Linked DNA regions of Homo sapiens: region 2 is linked to region 1. Evidence: promoter capture Hi-C in 16 types of primary human blood cells and fetal thymus (Javierre and others, 2016). All regions are on one chromosome and are shown on one strand. Each heading gives the region's core, a stretch centred on a gene start or on the middle of the fragment in contact. The rest is flanking DNA. Distances are from core to core; before and after follow the strand shown.

What was found. Contacts are between HindIII fragments. The CHiCAGO score rates a contact against its expected background, and 5 or more counts as called.
Region 2: a contact is called between the fragment with the promoter of MKX here and the fragment with the promoter of ODAD2 in region 1, in 15 of 17 cell types (M0 macrophages, M1 macrophages, total B cells and 12 more). The highest score is 9.7, in M0 macrophages.

What each region holds. Positions count from the first base shown.
Region 1 is chr10:27,996,558-28,001,319 of GRCh38, reverse strand. It overlaps ODAD2 (outer dynein arm docking complex subunit 2), which reads left to right and starts at 2,241. Exons shown (of 20, transcript NM_018076.5): 1 at 2,241-2,326. The HindIII fragment of the contact is 2,296 bases long and covers 980-3,275 here.
Region 2 is chr10:27,742,743-27,747,275 of GRCh38, reverse strand. MKX (mohawk homeobox) reads left to right here and starts at 1,457. Exons shown (of 7, transcript NM_173576.3): 1 at 1,457-1,569; 2 at 3,779-4,048. The coding sequence starts at 3,861. It overlaps MKX-AS1 (MKX antisense RNA 1), which reads right to left and starts at 2,661. Exons shown (of 2, transcript NR_121652.1): 1 at 2,328-2,661. RefSeq lists enhancers at 1,376-1,966, 4,317-4,386. The HindIII fragment of the contact is 8,324 bases long and covers 399-4,533 here.

The sequences.
Region 1 (4,762 bases), core at 992-3,491:
TCTATTAACCCTAAGAAAATGTGGGCCTTGCCTTTCTGGTGCTTGGTGAAGAGTGTCAGGAAGCAAGGCATCTTTGACTAGGCGATTCATGAATTTAGCTCCTTCTACGTGCCAGTCATCCTTCTAGATCTTAGGAGTACAGACTTGAAGGAGGCAGAAAAGCTCCCTATTTTCATAAAGCTTACCTTGTAGGGGTAGCAGATGGGCAACAAGGCAAAGACAAGTTATGGCCAGGCACAGTGGTTCATGGCTGTAATCCCAGTGCTTTCGGAGGCCATGGCTGGAGGATCACTTGAGCCCAGGAATCAGAGGCTGCAGTGAGCTATGCTTATGATTATGTCACTGCACTCTGCACTCCAGCCTGGGTGACAGAATGAGACCTCGTCTCAAAAAAAAAAAAAAGAAAAAAAAAAAACAAGTCATGATAAATCCTTCAGGGAGTGACTGGGCCCAGGTAGTGTTTCATCACGACAAGGAAAAATTGGAAAGAGGCGACTGGGACTTCTTCAGATTTAAATATTATTAAGTTATTTTTGCTTGGAAAATATCCGGTAAAATAAATTCACATTTTGGCATCAGATTAAGCAACTTGGCATGAATTTGGCAAACAACGACATAGTTGCTCAGATCTTGGTGGGTTCTGGCTTTTTCCAGCTTTGCAAACCAAGGTGAAATGTCCTGAACTTGGAAGATCTCTGGCTGGCATCCACATTGGACCCAGTAATGCTCCCTTATGTCATACAGCTGATTAAAATGTGCAGAGGAACTAAAGTACCCACAGAAGCTTCCTTGCTTCCAGGACTGGGACTACTCCAGGATCCTTCCGAAGGATGCCCTCTGCTCCTCACCAGGTTGTGACCTGCATTACCGCCACAGGTGTGATGCTGTTGTCTCAGACTGTAATCCACCCATTTTTAAAAGGGCTTCTCTGTATACCTATTAGCATAAGCCCCTTTCTCACTGGTTGCAAGTCTAAGCTTCTCTGCAGGTAGTATCTCCTTTAGGTGAAACTATTCCATTCCTAACAACTTTCGCACTTTCAAAAAGAGAAGAAAAGAACCCAAAACAGGCCAGGCATGGTGGCTCATGCCTGTAATCCTAGCACTTTGGGAGGCCGAGGTGGGTGGATCACTTGAGGTCAGGAGTTCAAGACCCACCTGGCCAACATGGTGAAACTTCGTCTCTACTAAAAGTACAAAAATTAGCCGGGCATGGCGGCGCATTCTTGTAATCCCAGCTACTCAGGAAGCTGAGGGGGGAGGATCTCTTGAACCCGGGAGGCAGAGGTTGCGGTGAGCCGAGATGGGAGGCAGAGGTTGCGGTGAGCCGAGATCGTGCCACTGCACTCCAGCCTGGGTGATAGAGCCAGACTTCGTCCCCCACCCTCCAAAAAACCCAAAACAAAGGACAAATATCTATACCTCATATCCCTACGTGTTTGCAGAAAGGTTCTGCTTTGAGCTGAATCCGTATAATATTATGACAGGTGATATCCTAACATCATTCCACATTTGCCTCTTTGGCATCCGGAAAAGAATCCAGTTTTAATTCCTAAACACCCCATCATCCTAAGTGCTCCGGCATTGGTCCTTAAACACCGTGTCCCCCCACCCCAAGATAGTGCATTCTTCCCCATCCCCCCCCACCTCAATATTCCCACTCCTTTATCCCTCACTGGTGTTCCAGTTGGGGCTCTTGCTGGTAGGGTGTCTAGAGGTGGGGTCAAAACCATCTTAATGGACAAAGGTAAAGGCCATTTAAAAAAAGAGATGGGGGACATGTTTTCATTTCACTCCGATCCTCTGCCCTATTGAAGAGCGCTTTCTGCTTTCCCGGTGAGTATCAGAGTATTCTACCATATTTGTTTTTTTGGAGAGAAACATGTAAGCCTCAAATATCCTAGGAGAAGCCCTATGCTATTTGGGGGTACTCAGTGAAGATTTCAGGTACATACAACGCACTTGTCTGGAAGCCTATGGAAAAATGTAAAAAGGGGTTTCTAAGGAATATTTTCTGCTTCCTTTCTGCTCCATTTTAAGTTTTCTGCTAACTTGCCGCCGACCCCGCAACTGCTCACGACCTCTGTCAAAGTCAACCTTTCCCACCGCGTGGAGTGAGTTAGGGTGCACACTCGGGAGTTGCATAAAAGTGTTTGAGAAAGGGAGATGCAAAGTTGAATAAAAGTGTTTCCCGGGAGGGGCCGAGCGGAAAGCAGCAGGTGGCCGGGGCGGGTGGAACCCAGCGCGGGCGCAGAGCGTCTCTGGCGCGGGCATACGGTGCAACGGGTCCGCGGGAATCTTGGATGCGCGGAGGTCCCGAGACCAGGGTAACGGACTGGGCTGCGGTCGCGGCCGGGTGAGGCTGGGAGCGGAAGGCGGCGGCGGCGGCGCCCGGGGGAGGGCACGGGCCCTGTAGGCCTCCCACAAGGGCGCCGGCGTGCGCGGCCGCAGGGCGCGCAGTGTTGACCCGCGTCCTAGCAACAGGCGGGCGCCGACTGCGGGGGGCAGGGTGCTGCAGGTGAGTGCGGCTGGGGGTCTCCACGCTCACCCCCGCAGGGGTTCTGCAGCCGCCCGCGTGGATCGGGAAACAGAGGCGGCTCTCTGGCCCCGCCGCTGCCGCTCTCGCCTGCTCCCCTTTCCCTCCCGGGGACCAAGACCCGCCCCCTTCCCTTCTCTCTCCCAGCCCCATCTCACTCCTTCCTCCCCGCGAGACCCTGCCTCGGCCCTAGGTTGGGGACCGTCTGCTCCTCAGTCCCTGCGCCCCTCTCTGCACTACCTCGGCCCCATCACCTCCCGGATCCGCTCTCCACTTCTCCCGCCGCTTCCCTGCCTCTCCTTCCCCCAGCCCGTCTTTCTCCTCCGCCCTTTGCAGCTCTGCCTCCCGCTCCCAGCGTGGTTTTCGCCGTCCCTTCCCTCCTCGTCCCCTTACCGAATCCATTCCTGGAAACTTAGGGTCTCAGCTCTGACGCCCCCTTCTTGTAACGAGTCTGGTGGGGGCCGTCATCCCACACTAGGCTTAGCTTTGGTTTTACTTAGGGCCCTGTTCATGTCATGTCTAAAAGTTCGATTTTCTGTCGGTCTTACTGAGTAACTTCTGCATTCTCAGAAAGCAGTGTATGCGCGGACTCCCCGTGGATGTTACCAACCACATTTCATAGATCTCAGAGCTGATGGCTGCCTTTCCGTAGCCCCCTAAAGAATTCGGTTGTGCTTCTGTTTAAGTGTTAACGATGTGATTACCGAATGGGTTTCATTTCACTAATGATGCTGGAAGCTTGAAATTGACCTTTAGAAAGAAAAACAATCTGTGGTATCTATTGGATAAAGAGAAAAATGAGTGCTAAGTGATTCCCAGTTTATGTAAACATCCCAGTTTATGTAAACACGTAACCAAAACTTTTTTCCTTTTAATCTTTAAACTTACTTTCTTTACTTCAAAGGTGTGTGCTGTGTATTTACATGGATTCATTTTAACTATGGTTCTTAAGCCAAAAGAGCTTGGCAATGGGCAGAAACCGGGGAGCAACTGGTCTTGATTTTAAAATCTTAGTTTTGAGTTATGCCGACCATTTTTGAACACCATTTATTTATTTATTTATTTTCTAATAACATTGATCTTGCCTTCTGGATTGTCATAGGCCACCCTGAGGTTTTCTTAAACTCACCAACCTTCTTGAATAAAACTTGTGCATTGCTACGGTTCACTAGACTTGGAAATACAATTTGAATAGATTCAAATGTTACATTTCTGTCAAAATTTATCTTGACGAAAATAACGATTTTGCATTTCTTAATTCTGTGTTAAGGGTCCTTCAAGAAGTTACTATATGGTATGTTGACTACCATAGCGTTACATAATCTATTTAATTTCGCATTTTTTCTTTAAAAATGTGCAAGAAGCAATCTTTATAAGATTACCAAAACAAATGTTATACTTAAGATTAAAGACAGACAGAACTTTCACCTAAGCCTTTCTGTATAAGATAAAGCTATTTGCACTTATTTCACACTATTTTACACTGATTTGCACTTATTTTACACAACAATGGGAAATTCAAGAGTCTCACACATACACATCAGAACATGTTTATGTGTTTAAATCTAAAGCATTTCTCATCGGTTAGCAATAGAAACAAAATGCTAGAATACTAAAACAAACACCCAGAACAAATTTGTGCACTAATTTCTGCACTTTATTTCATGACCACTTTGGTATATATGTCTGGATCAGTTGTTCTCCACCCTATCTGATCCAGTACTTGGTTTTTATAGCATATATGTTGTAAGGCTGCTTTGCTATCCTGAAATCAATATCATAGATTATAATCTTACATATTTAATATAGTTTTAAATATTGATAGTGTGCTAACTGTAAAATGAAAGAAAATAATTGTAAGAAAAGATTGGCATGTAAACGCTCAAGTACCACTACACTAGAATATATAGGGAAGTAGTCAGATGTCCAGCCTTACACAGAATGACTGTGAACACAGCAGCCCCAAATGCAGACTGATACAGATGTGCCATTGCAACTTAAATTTCTCAAATAACATTGCCATCAATGGTGTCATTTTCCAAAATGCTGAGCTCTTGGTAAAATTCCATGTAAAACAAAATATGTACAACCTTCTTTTCGTTTATGGTAGCTACAATTCTGGAAAATTCAGGGTGTAATAAAACTGTGACAAAATACTCTGCAATTTTTGCAAAGTGCAGAAAAATTCTAGGCTCAGGTAGTGCTTATCTGAAGTTTTTCACTTACT
Region 2 (4,533 bases), core at 208-2,707, 250 kb after region 1:
CCAAAGACAAGATGCAAGCGCTGCAACAGCAAGTTATATAACAAAAGAGAACCGAGGACATCAGAACGTGCTCCAATGATACTTTGTATCTTCCTGGTGCGCAAAAATGTAAACCGGCCTTCCTTTATGGTTTACATTGTACCCCTGCACAACGGTTTGCTATCGCGTAATTTGGGAGGTGACACATATGAAATTTGAGGGTGTGATTAGTCTTTAAAATAATAGTTTTGGTATATATTTTAAGCACTTCTAGCGACCCCCCCAACACACAAACACACACACACACACGCGCACACACACACACACACACGAAGAAGATGCTAAGGTGGGCCACTGCCCCGGCTCTGGCCAGCCGCATTTAGAGGGGAAAAGGACAAATGGCGCTATTTCTTTAAGCTTGGTGGGGGGAAATCTAAGTTTGTTCTTTAAAAAGGGCGAAAGTTCGCTAGGACCACAGGGCCTTCGGCGAGAGCGCAGGCAGCTTCGTGTTGGCACCTTGGGGATCTTCTGGGCTGCCAGAAGCTCTGAGCTTGCAGTTGCACCTAAACCGCCGCTTTCGCTACTTATATTTGCGGTAATGTTAGGAAGCAAAGTATCATCAATCAGAGAATCTGGTAGCCATTCTCTCTCTTTGCCCTGTGTCCCAGCTTGTGATTCTTCTAAGTTCCATCTCCTTTGCTGCGTGCAGATCCTTGGCTTTGGGCGCGCTTCCTCTTCTGCACTTGGGCCACCGCGGGTTGGCCACCTGGGCTGAACTCATCCCATCCTTGCTTTCCCCCATCCCTATACCCAGCGGCGAGGGCAGCCTCACCAGCCCTTGCCCCGGAGGTGAATGTGTGCCTGGCTTTGACTGAGACAACTAGGACCCCAGAAGCCCAGTGACATCAGAAAAGAGGCTCCTGGGCACTAGCACTTCCCGCAATACGCTCCAGGGCTGTAGGTGCAAAACGGAGCTCTAACTTCCCTCCAGCTAATCGAGAGGAAAATACAGGGCGCGTCACAGTGGCCTCTCCCGCCTAGCCACGCGCAGTGAAATTTCCGGCAATCGGGCCAGCTAAGACACGGGATTTGCACCGCAGCCTCTCAGCTTCTGGAGCCGGAGCCGAGCGCTCCCGGCAGCTTCTCCAATTTCTCTCCTAAAGTGCGAAGGGAAAAGCCCCGTCTGCTCCACGACTGCAAGGCCGGCGGATCTGGGAGCCGCGCCCGGCTCCGGAGGACTCGGCGGGCCCGGGGCTCCCCGGCAGCGGCTCCTCTGCTAGGGGTTAACAGCAGCCCCCGCGGCCGGGCGGGCGCGGACGCTTCCTCTCCACCCGCCCGGGAACGTGGATACCGCGCCCGCAGGATGTTCGCCGGCTGGGACCGGCAGTCAGGAAACATGAGAAGGCCTCGCTATTCCTGTTCCCGGGCGGCGCGCGCCGGGCTGGGTAAATAAAGCCGAGACGACGGCGGTGGCGGTGGTGAGCGCGCTGGAGCCCGCGTGGAGAACATGCGGCGGGGATGGGAGTGCGCCTAGTCTCGAGGCGGGAGAGCCAGCCGCCCTGCAGCCGGCCGTCGGCCCCGCAGCCACAGGTACAGCCCCCGCGTCGCCGAGTCTCAGCCGGCTGCGGCGGAACGCCAGGCTCGCTCTGGCCCCTGCGCCCTGGGCGCCGGTGCTCTCCCGCCCTTCCCCCAACTTCCCTCCAAGGTCTGGTGGAGAGGCGCTCGGGTAGCGGCCAAGGCTGGCCCAAGGGTCTGCGCGGAGCTTGGGAGCCCACCTGGCCGCGCCTCCTTTGCTTTAAAATTATTCGCCGGCGTTGGGGGAGGGGGACACTTCTGCAGGGAGTGACCTCCCCGGCCACAGTCTGGAGTGAATCGGGGTAAGTGATTTGAGAAGAGGCGCGGGTGGCCGCGCGCGGGAGTCCTGGGAGGGTCAGCAAGTGTGGTTCACACGCCCCCGGACCCCTTGCGACAGGACAGCGCTCGGACCTTTGCCATCGCTTGCCTCTGAGCCTGCTGCCTGCAGACCTACAGCGCGCCGGGTGTCTGTGTCTGCGATCTCTGCGTGGGCTTGGGGCTGCCGGGGAAGTGTCCGAGGTGGCTAACCTCGTGATGACTTCGCTAGGAAAAACACGTCGTCGCATCTAGGAGGACGCGCTGGGGTGGCTCGGAGAAGGCCGGGCCGGGGAAGGGTGTCTTGTACAAATAAAGCAGCATGAACACACATCCCTAAGGGCATGATTTTAAAAGAAAACACCAACGCGAGTCTTGACTGTAGAACAGGGGCTGCAAGCACGAAAATTCTCTTTGACACTTATCACCGAGGCTATGTGCACACCCCAGGCACGTACCTGTCTGCGCGGGAGGACGCAGTCCTAGGGGACACACGACATCCAGCAGAGGTCTGACTTCACTTCCCTACGAACACAGACCGTAGCCGTCGTTTGATCGCGGTGGTCACGCGTGGTCCTAAATGTCACGCGTGGCCTCTGCTGCGGTGGCCGAAGGGCGGGGCGGGGGCGTTGGCGAGTGTGGGCGCTTGGCGAGGCAAAGGGTGTGTGTGTGTGTGTGTGTGTGTGTGTGTGTGTATGCGCGCGCGCGTGTGTTAGTGGAGTAGCAGCCCATGCCGCGGCTGGACGGGCAAAGGGGGCGCTGGCAGCGAAGCTGAGGCCGCTCGGAGGAAACGGGAGCTGTCCCGAGGCGCGAGGCGAGGAGATGGGGCGGGCGAAGTCCGCCGCGCGCCTTGGGGCTGTAACTCTGCGGCTCCGCGGCCGCGCGGACTTGCTCCTGACGCCGGTGCGCGGCAGGCAGAGGCTCAGGGCCTCCGCGACCCCAGAGGTGAGCTGCTGGCTCTCCCCGACAGTGGCAGCAGTGGCCCGGGAGGTGCGCCGACCAAGCTGCCTCCTGCCTTGGGCTTCTGACACCTTTACAGCCTCTGAAAGGGTCCCCGGAGACCCCAGAGAGAGGCGGGTGTCGAGGGGCTACGAGCTCGCGGCTGACACCCGCGCTGCGGAAGAGAATGGCACTGATTGAGGGCTCTGGGGACCTGGGTCCTGGCGCCTTGGACCTTAGGACCATGCACTTCCCGGGGCGCGTTGGGGGATGATAGGAAGATTCTGGGAGAGAAGGGGGAGAAGTGGTGCTTTCGTCCTGACGCCACTTAACTTTTTCCTGTCCTTGAACCCAACCTCACCCCGGGGGACCTTGGCGGACAGAAGATGCGGGGGTTTCAACCAAACCATCCACGATCTAGAAAACACGAAAATCCCCCAAATCCCGGTATGGCCTGGGACTCATGAGCTGGGGGGTCTTGTGGATACGGTTGGCACATTACCCCAAATCTTCCCTTCCATCCAACCCCTCCTGACGCCCCGAGTTGGGGTTCCTAGAGGCTTTAGTCTTCTGCTGTGATTGAAGAACCACGCGCGGCCTCACGCCGGTCGCGCTCCGCAGTCCGGAGTATGCCTCTCCCAGATTCAAACTGAAACCCAGAGGCTCGTTTGGGAATTCGTTTCCTTTGCCTCTGCGGGTGAATGATTCCCGGTTGTAGTTCTGGGGAGTGAAGGGATTGGGGGGATCGATCGCCCAGGCAAGGAAGAGGGCAGGTACCTGTCCGGGGAACCTGCAGGGGCGGGGGCGTGTAGCCAACTGGGGAGAGCCGCAGGGTCCCTGCCAGTTGCGGCGGCGCCGCTCCTCCCCTCGGCTCCGCAGCCCGGCGACCCGGCCAAGTTCAAGGCCCTGAACCTGCAGGGGTCTGAGCACTCTCAGCCAGTAAGTAACGAGATGCACCTTCCTCTCCTAGAAGCCGAGCCCCGCTGCGGAGCTCCCGGCGGCCCAGCCCCGAGGCTCTGCGGCCGCGCCGCGCGTCCCTACCAACCGACACCATGAACACCATCGTCTTCAACAAGCTCAGCGGTGCGGTGCTGTTTGAGGACGGAGGCGCCTCGGAGCGGGAGCGGGGTGGCCGGCCCTACAGCGGTGTCCTGGACAGTCCTCACGCCCGCCCCGAGGTGGGCATTCCCGACGGCCCGCCCCTCAAGGACAACCTCGGCCTGAGACACCGGAGGACCGGGTATGCGCACTCCCCTGGGGGCCCTGCCCGCCTGCGGCCCGGAGGGGTGGGGGTGGTGAGCTGTGACGGGGTCCCGTGGCAACGCGGGCGGGTGGACGGGAAAGGGCCCGGAGTTCCCTGGGAGTGCAGGTCTGCCCCTCCAGGGCTCGCGCATTCTCATGTTAAGGGGCTCCTATCTTAAAACATGAGGGATCAATTCGTCGGGGCAGCTCCAAAGAGCTTGGTGGAGACTAAGGGCGCCAGGAGCTGCCCCTCGGCCCTCCGCTGCCTGGACCTCGGAGTTGGGGGTTATTTGCCCCTCTCCGGACTGTGGGTGCCGGTGCGCGGCTGAGGGCGAGGAAAAAGGACTGAGCTCGGTGCAGAGAAACAGGCGAAGCCGAGCAGTCGGGGAGTCCAGGCTCAGGCTCCGCGGACTTCTCTTCGGTCACTCGAGCCCCTCGCCAGAGCCCCGCGGCTCGCCTGGCCCAAGGAGTCGGGAAGGTCGC